Regions from separate parts of the Homo sapiens genome. Here all the other regions are linked to region 1. Evidence: promoter capture Hi-C in 16 types of primary human blood cells and fetal thymus (Javierre and others, 2016). All regions are on one chromosome and are shown on one strand. Each heading gives the region's core, a stretch centred on a gene start or on the middle of the fragment in contact. The rest is flanking DNA. Distances are from core to core; before and after follow the strand shown. Region 1 holds the start of GLMN (glomulin, FKBP associated protein). Region 2 has its middle 18 kb from the start of GFI1. Region 3 has its middle 19 kb from the start of GFI1.

The links. Contacts are between HindIII fragments. The CHiCAGO score rates a contact against its expected background, and 5 or more counts as called.
Region 2: a fragment that was not itself captured here is called in contact with the fragment with the promoter of GLMN in region 1 in 1 of 17 cell types (fetal thymus); the score reaches 6.8 in fetal thymus.
Region 3: a fragment that was not itself captured here is called in contact with the fragment with the promoter of GLMN in region 1 in 1 of 17 cell types (fetal thymus); the score reaches 5.0 in fetal thymus.

Annotation. Positions count from the first base shown.
Region 1 is chr1:92,296,808-92,301,913 of GRCh38, forward strand. It overlaps GLMN (glomulin, FKBP associated protein), which reads right to left and starts at 2,180. Exons shown (of 19, transcript NM_053274.3): 1 at 2,118-2,180; 2 at 1,154-1,222; 3 at 597-722. The coding sequence starts at 1,192. It overlaps RPAP2 (RNA polymerase II associated protein 2), which reads left to right and starts at 2,252. Exons shown (of 13, transcript NM_024813.3): 1 at 2,252-2,339; 2 at 3,387-3,432; 3 at 4,669-4,783. The coding sequence starts at 2,267. RefSeq lists enhancers at 1,278-2,174, 1,746-2,215, 2,436-2,665 and a silencer at 1,677-2,014. The HindIII fragment of the contact is 769 bases long and covers 1,704-2,472 here.
Region 2 is chr1:92,502,004-92,507,109 of GRCh38, forward strand. No RefSeq gene overlaps it. Among named protein-coding and RNA genes, the nearest start is that of GFI1, 18 kb to the left of the region's middle. RefSeq lists an enhancer at 2,399-2,588. The HindIII fragment of the contact is 1,360 bases long and covers 2,159-3,518 here.
Region 3 is chr1:92,465,492-92,470,597 of GRCh38, forward strand. No RefSeq gene overlaps it. Among named protein-coding and RNA genes, the nearest start is that of GFI1, 19 kb to the right of the region's middle. The HindIII fragment of the contact is 1,038 bases long and covers 1,781-2,818 here.

The sequences.
Region 1 (5,106 bases), core at 930-3,429:
TTCTGATTCTATGCACATAAAATACTGTTTTAATTAAAATTTGGTTTTCCATACACATTTGGCTGGAGGAGAATGGGCTGATCACCCAAAATGAATATTTAGCCTGCTTGATATGTATATTTCTCATTGTAAATTAATGACTCAAACACCATTTTTGGACTCCCTAAACCAGAAGTAATTCTGTTTCTTCTAAAAACTCTTTACTTCAACTATAGCAATTATTTATTTTGCCTCATTATTGTTAGTTGTTTACATGTTTATGTTTGACCAGATGGTAAAAACCTTCAAGTATATGACTGTTTCTTTTCTTTTTTTTTTTTTTTTTTCTGAGACAGGGTCTTACTCTGTTGCCCAGGCTGGTCTCAAACTCCTGGGCTCAAGTGATCTGCCTGCCTTGGCCTCCCATAACGCTGTGATTACGAACGTGAGCCACTGCGCCTGGCCTAAATATTTCTAATTCTTTTTTTGTTTTCAGTTCCCTACTGTGAAAATTTAAGTAGATTCTTAAATGTTTGATGGATAAATGACTGGATGAATAGCATCATGTGATTATTCTCTTCCCAAGACTGAAAAGTAAACACCAAGATTGTACGCACCTTATTCTTTTCATTTTGAATAATTTCTAATAGCTGGTCTGTGTGCCCTTCTTCTATGCATCTTTGCCCAGCTAACTGAAATAGGCCAAAATCCTCTTCTTTAAAGTCTTGCTCTTCTAGGATTTGCTGGCAAAAAAAAAAAAAACCCAAAAAACAAACAAAAAAAAGTATATGCAAATAAAAATTAAATACAATAACTTCTTGATTTATCTATGAAAAAAGGAAATCTGTTTAAATTCTAGATAAATGTAACGTAAATAACACACGTATCAAAATTAGGATTACCCTAATAAATACTTTAATAAGTGACCTTGAAATCTACTGTACCAGTGAAATCTATGAAAAGGATCAGGATTAAAATGTAAAAGGTTATTTAGATAAGTATGTCACCTGGAGAAATAATCCAATCTGCCTCCCCCACTCATGCTCTTTACAGGTCAAAAAAAGCAAGGATTAAAGAAGATAAACAATTTGAGTGACCACAAATATAATTAAAAACAATCTGTGCCCTTCCCATATTTTGAAAGGTATTTAATTTTACAAAAATTAATACTTACACATCTCTTTATTATAGACTGAAGTTCCTCTACAGCCATTCTTATTTCTCCTAGTTTCGATGCTAAAATCTACAAATACAAAACACACTGTTAACTATCCGTGATATTACACTTAAGTATTCAAAAGTTATGTTTCAGTGTGATAAATTATTAGTAAATACAATAAAGAAAATGGAAAGTTTTTGTTGTTGTGTTTTTTGGTCCAATAGCATGCTAGGAGAAAATGTAAAGTTTTAAAGTTGAAATGTTATTACTGAATCTTAGTATGTTTGCCTAAGAAAATAAAGTGTTTTTTTAGAAGCCCTTATTGCATGTTTTAAGTTTTCTAGGAGCATAGTTTTGAAAGCTACTTTGAAGGAAAAAAAAACAAAAAAAACCTCTCGAGCACTCCCAAGAGGCGAGGCATATACGAACTAAAGGGCTTTTAAAAAGCAAAGCACTTCTTTTCTGAAAAAAAATTTCCAAAAGGTGGACCTGAAATCAAAATTCTAATCATCAGGGGATTTTTCATTTTTAATGTCTCACCTCACAAAAATTGGGGTGCAACACAAGCTTATCTATAGGGGGTGAAGATTCAGATGCCCTCCATTCCATTTCTCTCTAGGAGTTGCAGTCCCCAAAGTGATCAATCCAGCTAGTGAAATCACTGTATCACACGGAGACAAGACAACGGCGGCCTTCAGGAGGAGACCATCGCTTCTCCTGGCGGCAAGGCTCGGCCCCAAGCCCTCAGTAGGGGCGCGAGTCAGCCCGGTCCTCAGGGCAGCGCGCTGGAAGGCGAGTGAACACCCCAGCGCGCGTGCGGGCTGCATCAGAGGAAGCCATGTCTTCCGATTCCTGCTCGCCTAGGTGGGCAGGCTCCACCACCTCGCGTGGCCTAGTCGGCCCGCAGCACCAAGTCCGCCGCGGCTCACGGCCAACCGCGAGCCCTGGCCACCCTGAACCTCTCCACAACTCCACTTACCGGCCAGAACCCTCGCCTCTCCCAGCCGCCGCCACCTCCTCCGGCGTCTTAGCCCGCTCTTCTGGCCCCGCCCCGCGCTACGCGTAGGGAGGCGGGGCCTCGGGGCGAGACGCCGGAGCGTGTCCCCGTCCGGCAGACTACTCTCCCCCATGGCGGACTTCGCTGGGCCGTCTTCTGCCGGCCGCAAGGCCGGGGCTCCCCGCTGCTCTCGAAAAGCCGCAGGTAGGAGCAAGGATCTCTTCCCACTTTTGGACCCTGAAAGCTGGGCCCCGATCTCGAGTTATAGACCGCAGCGCGCGGGCGCTCCTGAAAGGCTGCTTCAGGGGAGGGGTTCTCCCAGGTAGAGTAGGCCGAAAGCTTCCCACCGCCGTCCGCACCTCCTGGGAAAGATTTCCTGGCCGCCCCTCACCCCTTTACGCCAGTGTTCCAAGATTTCCCTCACGCGGACTGTGGCCCCAGCCTCTGAGACAAAGGACAGTGGAGGCCCCGGGAACCCAGGCCTGGGGTCCCCGGGTTTCGGGGCAAGTGACTAGGGCAGCGTTGGCAGCTGGCCTTGAACCTAGGACCGGTCCTCCTTTCCAGATTGCTTGGGTGCCCAGTTCTTTAAGGTGCCGGACTCCCCTCTTCCCCCAGAGAGGACGTTTGGCAGACGGAGAGAGGTTTCCCCTAAAAGTACCCAGATCTCAGATTTTCAGGAGTGGTTAATTAAGCAACTATGATACAGAAGAAAATTCAATCCCCAAAGAGATACATTTTAACCAAGAAAAATTAGACAGTAATCAATTTGCAAAAACAAATTGCTCTCCCTTCCTATTTCATTTTGATTTACACACGATTGGACATAAAATATGTGGAAAAGAAGAAAAGGTGGTCTACAGTTTGTTATTTGTGTAGGAATCTATCTTGTACCTAATGTGTTTGTGTAGACCTGACCTACTGCCACCATGTGTAGCTTAACTGCGGGGATGCATTTTGAGAAATAAGTTGTTAGTCGATTTCATCCTTGTGTGACCATCATCGAGTGCACTTACACAAACCTAGATGGTACAGCCTACTTACACACTAGGCTATATGGTACAGCCTATTGCTCCCAGGCTACAAACCTGCACAGCATGTTACTGTACTAAGTACTGTAGGCAACTGTATATCTAAACATAGAAAAGGTACAGTAAAAATACAGTATTTTAATCTTATGAGACCGCTGTCTGTATGCTGTCCGTCGTTTACGGAAATGTCATTATGTAGCACATGACTGTATTTTTATTGTAGGTACTAAACAGACAAGTACTTTGAAACAAGAAGATGCTTCTAAAAGGTATGACAGCTACATGGACAACTACATTGGCATATCTACTTATCTTGTATTACTTGTACCAATTTTAAAACAATAATGGTTACCTTTTTTTTTTTAGAGAAAATTATCATGAGAGGGAAGGGAAAGATCTGGGAAGGCCTATAAATTCTCACATAGACTGTTACATTCCTCTACTCCAGGCTTTAAGAAAACCAAACTAAGCACTCAGACTGCTAGTGAAGGAATGAGTGTCTGTAGAAGGTGTTTGTTTTTCACCGCTTCAGGTACACTCTCCTTTTATTGCTTTATATGCCAGAGACTCACTCTCCAAGTTTCGCTGTCACTCCAAGAAACCTTTTCTGTTCTTTGTTACATCAAGTCCAGATTTTCATTAAAAAGCTGTCTTGTACTAGTTCTGGTTCTAAAAAGGCAAGATATTACCACATATCACACAGAGTTTCTAGAAGAGGAGTAGAATGTGAAGGGGATTAAAAGCATATGTAGCTATGATTTTTATTTTGTGAAGACTCACTAATCTTATATTGGCTTTGGTCTTAATTTACTCATTCTTTCAAAAATTATTTATTGAGTATAAGATATGTCGGACCTGTGTTAGGCTCTGAAGATATGGTGAACAGAATAGACACAGTTCTTGCCTAGTGGAACAGAGGAATAAATAATAATAAATTAATTAGTTAATTAACATAAACAAATACATAATTACAAATTGTGATAAGCACTATGAAGGAAAAGACTGTGATGTTACGAGAAGGAATAACGAAGTCTAATTTAGTTGGAGGTGGGTGGCAGGGAGGTTGGCTGTGAGTTTTCAGCGAAAGCCTTATGCTGAGACCTGCGTGCTAAGTAGACATTAACCATACAAAGAGTATATAAAGACTTATGTATGTGCAGTGCAAAAAGTAGCTTGTTTCCTTTTTGAAAAGTATTGGATCAAAAGTAACAGCATTAGAAAACAGAAATTTGGCCGGATGTGGTGGCTTATGCCGGTGATCCCAGCACTTTGGGAGGCTGAGGTGGGAGTGTTGCTTGAGGCCAGGAGCTCGAGACCAGTTTGAGCAACATAGTGAGACCTTGTCTCTACAATTAAAAAGAAATAAATATTTTTATTCAAAAAATTTTTTAAATATATTTAAATTTAAGTGGCAAAATAGTGAGTTAGGTTAGTATTGTATTTTAAAACATGGAATGTTGGACATGAAGCTTTTAAGTAGATTAAGTTTCTCTTTCAAATTTTAGGAAAGCTGAACTAGAAGCAGCTGTGAGAAAGAAGATTGAATTTGAGAGAAAAGCTCTACATATTGTTGAACAGCTTTTAGAGGAGAATATTACAGAAGAGTTCCTAATGGAGTGTGTATGTGTTAAGTTGACAAATTATTAGTTTTGTAGTATAACATCTTTAAATCTGTGCAGCATGAAACTTCTTTGCATTATTAGAATCTTTGAATTTGTTCTGAGTCATTAGATGCAGATAACAATCCATATAATTCATGCATTTAAAAATAAACAACTATCATGCATTCCTTGTATAATGACTTTAAAATGCACTAATGAAAAATAAGTACGTAACAAGGTGATGACACGTAATGTATATTTCAAAATTAATAAGAGTGGATTTCAAATGTTCTCACCACAAAGAAATGATAAATATGTGAGGTGATAGATATGTTAATTAGC
Region 2 (5,106 bases), core at 1,589-4,088, 210 kb after region 1:
AAAACCATGGAATTATTATATGACCCAGCAATTCTACTCCTAGGTATATGCCCAACAGAATTGAAAACCTATGTCCACATGAAAACATGTACATAAATGTTCATTGCAGCATCATTCATCATAGGAAAGAAATGACAACAGACTAAATCTTCATTAACTGATGAATAGATTAACAAAATGAGGTATACCCATATGATAGAATATTATTCAGCAAATAAAAAGAAAAAAACAATGAAGCACTAATAGATGCTACAACATGGATGAGCCTCAAAAAATTATGCTAAGTGAAGCACACACAGAAAGCCACATATTCTATGATTCATTTATATGAAATGTCCAGAATAGGCAAATCCATAGAAACAGAAAGTAGAATAATGGTTGCCAGGGGCTGAGAAGAGGAAATGGTAAGTAGTTGCCAGTGAGTATTAGGTTTCTTTTTTCATGCTGAAAATACTCTGAAATTAGATAGTGGTGATGGTTGTACAACTCTGTGCTGTACTATGCAATTGTACACTTTAAAAGGCTGAATTTTATAGTGTGTGAATTATATCACAATAAAGCCATTGTTTCTAAAATGTACTCAGAGTACTTGTTGGCACAGAGTAAGTACTATGTTTCCAAATAGTCACTGCCCTCTCCCTGGGATGTCTTAGCATGTGACTTACCTTAGCCAATGAAATGTGCCTCTGGTCGTGCGTGGTGGCTCACGCCTGTAATTCCAGCACTTTGGGAGGCCGAGACGGGTGGATCATGAGGTCAGGAGTTCGAGACCAGCCTGGCCAACATAGTTAAACCCTGTCTCTACTAAAAATACACACACACACACACACACACACACACACACACACACACACACACACAAATTAGCCGGGCATGGTGATGCACTCCTACAGTCCCAGCTACTCGAGAGGCTGAGGCAGGAAAATCGCTTGAACCCGGGAGGCAGAGGTTGCAATGAGCCGAGATCGCGCTACTGCACTTCAGCCTGGGAGACAGAGTGAGACTCCAGCTCAAAAAAAAAAAAAAAAAAAAAAAAAAAAAAAAAAGAAATGTGCCTCGAAATGATGTATATCACATCCAGGGAGAAGTTTTGGGAACGAGCATGTGGTTCACTGTATCCCTTTGCCCTCTGCCACAACACTCAGCAATGTTCAAAATAGAAGTAGCATCATCAGCCTGGGTCCTAGAGTAAAAACAGCATAGAGCAGAGCCACAGCCAGCATTTGATGGACACACAGCATGAGTGAGAACTGATGTAAACCACTGAGATTTCAGAGTATTTGTTAACACAGTAAAATCCAGCCTATCCTGACTAATGCAGGATATTACTGTATAATAATAACTACTATTATCATTACCACTACTAGCAATCAGAAAGTAGAGACTGTTGTGCAATCACCTCAAACAATACTTCCAATGTGCCACACATGGCAAACATGTGGAGATACCATGTGGACAGAGGACACAGATGAGAAGTCAAGTCAGAAGGAACATTCACATCAATAACTCCTTACCAAGCAGGCTGTACTGGTTCTGGGGAATTCAGAGATGCCATGCACAATCTTTCTCAGGGAACTCAGCTAACAACAGCAGCTGCTGTTGATTGAACACTTACTATGTGCCAAACCCTTTAGGCTCCAGTACACGCATTGTCTCCAGTCTCACCAAAGAGCAGTTTGGTGATGAACAAGAAACGTCTCCAATTTTCACCCACAAATAAACAATTCTATTTTAGAGAAATTAGTGAAGCAAATGAAAGGTTGTGGGATCCGTTTAAAATAGCTGCAGAGTGTCAGCGGCTGTGAGCCAGACCAAACAGCACACCTTCCCACACACCCTACTTGGGCCTGTGATTACTCAAATCCCAGCACTGGCCTGGGGAGCTGCCCACCAGGAACATCCCTCCACAGCACAACTAGAAGGCAGCTTGCCAGAAAAGGGCAGAGCTGGACCTGCCTTCAGCCTCTGAATGGACTAAGAGTTAACAAGTGGAAATGCATGAAATTGTTCTTTAAAAATTTGTGCTTAACATCATGACTCCCATGCTTTGGTTTTCTACCACTTCACCCGGCAGCTTGCTTTTGTAGTTCTGGCACGAATTCAGCCGGGCCGAGGGAGCTGGGAGAGGGAAATGGCTCACGGACTCCTGGGAAGCCGAAGCTTGACCTTAAGAGTATTTGGTGGTAAGGAGGCTGCAGAGACAAATATTCATTCATGTGCTAAAGGTTTTAAAACTCTCTCTTTGTAAATGGAGCATGGTTAGTCTAATTCTGCACTCCAGTGACAGGCACAAGGACAGATGCTGGACCTTGAGACATACAAAAGTGACAAAGCAGGCTGATGAATAAGATGTCATCTCTTCTACCCACGACGAAGTCATCCTGGTTGAGGTTAGGCAGGGACACACAAAATTGTGCCTTGAATGTAGAAGTACAGCAAGCACCAACGGGGTGTATCTGTTCCTGTCCTGGGACAGGAAGGGCATAGGTGACACCAGAGACTAGGAAAGCCTCTGCTGGAGGGGAAGAGCCCCTTGGTGGGGGGGAGAGACAAGGCTTGACTGGTTTGCTGTGGAGGGGGTGGTGTGCAATGGCTGCCGTCCCGCCCTCTGAGGCAGAGGCAGGGAACAGTTAGGAGCTCCCAGGTGCATCTCAACTGCCACAGCATCTCAGCCTTGGAGTCTCTCATGTGTACAGTATGCATTTCCTTTAAAAAAAAATCAGAGAAACAACATCTTTAAAGCCAACCAGTTTCTTTCCACCTGACCCTGCTTTCTCCTGTAACTGAGGACAGCCTCAGAGAAGACGCTATGTGGTCTCTGAAAAGGTGGCCAACCGTAGGCAACAGGGGAGTGAGGACACAGCAGCCTTCTGATCTCACCGTGGACACAGTGAACTGACAGTCAGTTCAGGAGGAGTTAAAAAGTTCTCTGGGCCTGGTTTAAGATGCTCATTTTCAGACATTCTTGGTAAAATCTGGAGTGCAGGAGAGATGCAGCTATAGACCCAGTTAGGTGACATCAGCAGGTCACCTCTGAGCAGGTCATAGGGTAGGAGAGAATGGGGCGTGGTACATAAAGGTTGTGGCAGGGTCACGGGCACCATCCTGTACACAGGGTGGGGAATGGGCAGGGAGGGGGTAGGGACGCAAAATAAGCCCCTCCCCCAAGTTGAAGGTAACCTCTGAATTCCCACGGCAGTGCTTCTGTTCTCCTGTATCTCTTGCCCCATGCATGAGGGTAGGAGTTGGTCTGGTTCATCTTTGCTTCCTCAACAGTGACTGATCTGTGCCTTGTGCCAAAGCAATATTGTGTAATTAGAGGACTCTGGAGCTAGGCTGGCTGCATTGGAATCCTGGACTTTCTACTGATATTTGTATTTCACAGATGTTTACCTCGTTTCAATAATGAAGACATTGAGGTAAAATGACTTCTTCAGTTATTCATGCATTCATTCAACAAATATTTATTGAGAGCCAAGGCACTGCTGGGATAGAGATAAAAATCTCTGCACTCATAAAGCTTGCATTCTGGTGTGGAGATAAACAATAAACCAACAAATATGTAAAATGGGTAGGATGTCAGACTGTAATCACTGCTATGGAGAAAAGTAAAGCTAGGAAGAGGCTTTTTCAACGGAAGGATCAGAAAAGGCCTCCTGTGCAGGTTGAGCAGAGACCTGGTGGAGGTGGGGAGCTGCCTTGTGGTATTTAGCTGAGCATCCTAGGAAGGGCAGGGTCCTGATGGGAGTCTGGTGTGTCCATGGATCAGCAAGGAGGTCATAATTTTTTGTTGTTTGTCCAGGATTAATCAATACAAAGCTTGAGTCCCAGTCTAGTGCTCTAGTGCTAGAATTTTACGCCTAAACATTTTCTTATTTCATGGGCGCTGCAAATTTTATAACCGCAGGTTTTACTTTTTTTCCTTCTAAATATCTTTATTTGAATATCTTTAGTAAATAAGTTGACTTTAAGTTCTTTATTTCTTTTGAGATGGGGTCTTGCTATGTTGCTCAGGCTGGTCTTGAACTCCTGGGCTCAAGTGATCCTCCTGTCTTGGCCTCCCAAAGTGTTGGGATTACAGGCATGAGCCACCATGCCTGGCTGATGCTAAATTCTTAACATGCCTAGTATTTTTTTTTTTTATCATTTTAACCATTTTTAAATGCACAACTCAGTGGCATTAAGTACAATCAGTGTCATGCAGCCATGACCACTATCCATCTCCAAAACTTTTCCAGCATTCCAAACAAAAGTTCTGTATTCATTATGCCGTTAACTCTCTTCCCTCACCTCCACTGCTGGGTAATGTCTACTCTATTTCTGTCTCTATGAATTTGCCTGTTCTAGATATCTCATATAAGTGGAACCATACTATGTGTCTGGCTTATTTTACTTAGCATGTTTTCAAGGTTCATCTATTTTGTAGCATTATACTTTTACTTTTTTATGGCTGAATAGTATTCCGTTGTATATGTAGTATATACCACATTTTACTTATCCATTCACCTGTTGGTCATATGGGTTGTTCCCACATGTTGGCTATCATGAGTAATGCTGCTGTGAACATTGATGTACAAGTATCTGAGTTACTGCTTTGAGTATATGTCTAGAAGTGGAATTGCTGGGTTACATGGTAATTCTACAATTAACATTTTTAAAGACCACTGAACTGTTTCTCACAGAGGCTACACCATTTTCCACTCCCAGCAGCAATGTACAAGGGTTCCAGTTTTTCCACATATTTTGCCAACGGTTTTTTTTTTTCTTTTGAGCTCCCGGGTTTTCACAGGGCATATTTTCATTTTTTAAATAGCCATCCTAATAGGTGTGTAAAATGGTACCTCGTTGTGGTTCAGATACTACTTTTTTCACTTACTGGAAACAGAGTCAAATTTGTGATGCATCTTTAATAGGGGTGTGTGTATATATATATGTGTGTGTGTGTATGTGTATAAATATATACATATAATTTTTTTTTTAAAGAGACTGGGGCTTGCTATCTTGCCCAGACTGGTCTCCAACTCCTGGCCTCAAGGGATCCTCCCATGTCATCTTCCCCAAGTGTTGGGATTACAGGCATGAATCACGGTACCTGGCTGGTGTGTG
Region 3 (5,106 bases), core at 1,050-3,549, 170 kb after region 1:
AAAATTACATTTCCCAGCATTCTTTGCAGCAAGGTTGGGATTTTGTGTTGAGATCTGATCAAAGGAAAGTGAACAGAAGCAATCTATACATTGCCCAGTCTGGCTTTACAAAGGTCCCATATGATCCTCTACACACCTTCTGTCTTCATTCATCAGCCAGCTAAATGCAGACAATGCAGAAGAGAACAAGAAATCCCTGGAAGATGGCAGCATTGCAAGATAGAAGGAATTGGGAGCTCTCAATCACCAGTGAAGAAAGCAGCCTGAACACACTCAAATTCACTGTGATATGTTAATTATTTATTTATTATGTAAGCTACTGCAATTTTGGAGTTATTCGTTACAGCACTAGTGCTCTTTACTCTGATAAATATACTGGCAATTTGGAGACCATGATGGTTAGTTTTTGTGTCAGTTTGACTGGGCCTCAGGTGCCCAGAAAGTTGGTTAAACATTCTTGCTTGGTATGTCTCTGAGGGTGTTTCTGGATGAGATTAACATTTAAATCAGTAGACTGAGTAAAGTAGACTGCCTTCCCTAATGTAGGTGGGCCTCATCCAATCAACTGTAGATCTGAACAGAACAAAAAGGCTAACAGGGAACTTTGCCTGTCTGACTGCTTGATCTGGGACATCTGTCTTTGTCTTCTCCTGGTCTTGAACTGGAACTATATGCAGATAAGTAATCAATATACCATATTTAAGGATCTCCTGACCTCCAAATTCAATGCAGTTTTTAACTAAACAGTTCTGCTTCTCCAAGCTAATAGAAGGTTCCCTAGGAAAGTTCAGATCCATTTCTCACACCTGGAACCTGCCAGTCTTGGACCAACAGTGACCAGTGGAAAATAAACCTCCATATAGACCCCAGGGGGTCCTTAGTGATGTACAAAGAATAAGTGTTGTGGGTGCCCTGAAATCAAATCAGCTAAACCTTTGACACTAGCATTTGGATTGCAAAGAGTCTTCCAGTTCACTGCCCACTGGTTTTTTTGTTTGTTTGTCTGTTTGTTTGGAGACAGGGTCTCACTTTATTGCCCAGGGAATTAAAAAAAAAAAAATATCAGGGACCAGGTCTCATTATGTTGTCCAGGCCGGTCACGAACTCTTTGCCTCAAGAATTCTCCCACTTCAGTCTCCCGAGTCACTGGAATTACAGGCATGAGCCACAATGCCCAGCTCCTGGATTGAAAGAGTTTTGAAGGTCATCTGGTTCTACCTTTATTTTAAACTTTTTATTTTATGTTATTTTATATAGTACCTAAATATATCATGTAAACAATAACCATGCAAAGATGACATGCAAAAATATTACACTGTGGTGGGACTCCCTCAGCCCAGTTAAGAACCTGTTACTCTTGTTTATTAGAGTCCCATGAACAGTGGTTTTTAGTACAGGGAAAGAGGAAGTTGAGTTTGTGTGATGTCTCTGGGAAGGTATATCCAAGAGGTGAAACACAGACAATTCTACTAAAGGTTAATGAAAGGATGGTTTCTGGCTCTCCCAAAAAGTCACAAGAGGCATCCACTCAGATTTTCCTTACTCTAAGAAAAACTGAAGAACTGCTATTGCAGCAAATCTTATAAAGGCGTGCCAATCAGTTCTTCTCAGAAAGGGCAACCTAGGAAATTGTCTAATTCATGTTAAAAGACAGAATTGAAACTAGGCTTCCTACTTTACCAAAAATTAAAAAACTTCTCAATGAAGTTTGTAAAACTAGCATCAAGAAACAAACCTAACTTCCTGCTTTTGGGTCTCCTTTACAGTTAAAACAAATGCAAGCTTTAAAAAACCTTGCAAGATAGAATCCTTCCTTGAATACCAAAAAATGGACTAGCAGAGTAAAGCAGTAAGCATCATATTGTTTTGGGCAGAGTGAGTACTTTTCTCTCCTGTGTGTGTGTGTAATTCTTTTTTATCAGTAAAAGCTCATTGGAAATGAGAAAACAGCAACAGATTCCTATTAGATTAAGTTGCTTAGAGATGAAAAGATCAGGTACATGTACACCACACATACATATAGTGAAACAGTATCAGAAATTATATTTTCAATTGGAAATTTTATTTTACTTATGTCTGACTTTAAAAAGGTAAATAATATTGAATTAATGCTATTTACAAAGATATATTCCTAAAGCATAAGAACATAAAAAGATTAAAAATAAAAGGACATTAAAAATACCATGTAAAAATAGGCCAGCCATAGTGGCTCACACTTGTAATCGCAGCATTTTGAAGGCCCAAGGTAGATGGATTGCTTGAGGCCAGCAGCTCAAGACCAGTGTGGGAAATATGGTGCAACCCCATCTCTACAAAAACTACAAAAATTAGAAGGGTGTGGTGGTATGTGCCTGTGGTCCCAGCCACTCAGGAGGCTAAGGTAGAAGAATCACCTGAGCCAGGGAGGTCAGGGCTGCAGTGAGCCGAGATAGCACCACTGCACTCCAGCCTAGGCAACCCTGTCTCTAAGGAAAAAAAAAAACTTAAAAAAAAAACAACCAACCAACCAAACAAAAAACTAAAGGCAATGAGTACAATAGAATGATGATTAAAAAAGGAATAATTCACCAGGAATACGAAATAGTTCAAAATTTTATGCACCTAATAACAACCCTCAAAATAGGTAAAAGAAAAAGAGTTAACAGAATTCAAAGGAGATTTTTCTCAAGCTCACATGGAAAAAAAAAAAAGAACTTAAAGGAAAAATTTATAACTTAATAATCACCATGAGAAAGTAAAACCTATCTCTCTCAGTGATTGGTTGATTAAGCAGACCAAAATTATTTAGGATATAGAAAATTCGAACAATATAATCACAAGCTTAATCATAGTGGAACTTGCACTTGGCAATTAGAATATATACATTCTTTTCAAGCACACATTATCTATAAAAATTGACCATGGAGAAGGCCACAAAATAAATCTCAACAAATATTAGAGAATTAATATTATGCAAGTCAGGTTCTCTGATCAAAATATAATTAAATTATAAATCACTTACAAAAATTACTGAAAAAACATGTTTAGAATTTTATTTTGCAACTCTAAGCCAGAGATGTTTAGAAATTTTAAATGTACTTCTAAATAATACATCTGTCAAATAAGAAATATTGTTAGATAAGATATAGAAATGAATGACAATGAAAATATGCTGCAAAAACTAATAAAATAGGGACCTTTGGCAATATTAAAGAAAAAAGATAAAGGTACAAATGAACAATATCAGAAAGAAAAATTGAACATAATTATAGGTGGAGTAGACATTTTTTAAAAATCAGAGAACTCTATGAAATGTCTGTGGCAATTAATTTGGATACTTATAAATATGCTGATATATATATATGATACAGCATTTTTTTTTTGAGATGGAGTCTTGCTCTGTCACCCAGGCTGGAATGCAGTGGGGCGATCTCGGCTCACTGCAAGCTCCACCTCCCTGGTTCATGCCATTCTCCCGCCTCAGCCTCCCAAGTAGCTGGGACCACAGATGCCCGCCACCACGCCCGGCTAATTTTTTTGTATTTTTAGTAGAGACAGGGTTTCACCATGTTAGCCAGGATGGTCTCGAACTCCTGACCTCGTGATCCAGCCGTCTCGGCCTCCCAAAGTGCTGGGATTACAGGCATGAGCCACCGTGCCCAGCCATGATACAGCATATTTAAGAAAAAATTAAAAACCTGAATAGACCTATAGTAACTAAAACTTAAATATACCCTCCTCTTTGCTAGCCTTCATCAAAAAAATCCCAGGTGAGTTCTATCAAACATTCAGAGAACATATAATTCCAGTCCTTCACAAATTGATCCAGAAAACAGAAGAAGAAGAAATGTTACCCTGTTCATTTTGAAACATGTTAAACCTTGGGCAGCATAAGAAATAAAAATTATAAGCCAATTTCACTAGTAAGTATAATGCAAAAATCCTAAGTAAAGGTCAGCAAACCAAATCAGCAATGTTGTTTAAATGACTAAGTTGGAATTTATTCCCTCTAGGTGGGGGTTTTTTCCCCAAATAATACAAGGATAATTTAAAACATTAGAGAAAATTATAAATATAATTTGCATGTTGACAAAGGATAAAAGATTAAAAATATATTTATTCTCTCAATAGATGCAGAAAAATCACACAAAAATAATTAAATACCCATTGATTAAAAACACACATACACAAGTGGAAATTCTTACCAAATAGAAACAGAAATTCCTAATCTCATTTTTAACAAGTTATCTACCAAAAACCTACCAAAAACATCACATGAAGTTGTGAAAAACTAAAAATATTTCCCTGGAATAAGGGAATAAGACAAAGATGACTATTATTCAGCCCCTATTCAGTATAGCCCTGGCCAGTGCAGTGAGGCAATAATAAGATGGAAAGAATGAAATAAAGCTATAATCACTTGAATATCTTATGGCTATCTTACTCTGAAAATCTAAAATAATCTGCAAAAACCAAAAAAGAGGGTTCAGCAAAGTTGCAGGATACAAGATCAACATATAGAAAAATTAATTTTGTTCCCATACATCAGCAGCAATGACAAAATTCAATTTTCAAAAAAAGAACTAAGAAAATAAGTTTAAAAAGTAATTAAATTATGCAGACAATGACAAAGTGTTATTGAAAGCCATAAAAGAAGATTAAATAAGTAATCAATATACCATATTTATGTATAGGAAGAATCAATAGCAAAATAATTTCAATTCTCCCCAAATTAAATAATAAATGTAATACAAACCTAAATTCCAATAGAGTTTTTCACATGCAAGAACGAAGGGCCAAAGGTAGCCAGGATACTCCTGAAGAGGATGAAACAGGTCACAAGGCAGCCTTCCCTACTAGCTATTAAGAGTTTATTGTAACTTAAATTATTTAAGACACTATGGCTTTGGCATAGAGATAGACAAAATGACCAGTGGAACAGATCAGCAAGCCTGGAAATAGAACCATACAGAAATAGAAACTTGACATATGACAGAGGTGGCATTACAATCAGAGGGAAAAGGATGAAAATAGCAATACATAATGTTGGGATAATTGGTTATCCATTACTAATGGTGAAGAAAATTTTTAAAATTAGGTCCTACTTTATACTATACACACACAAGT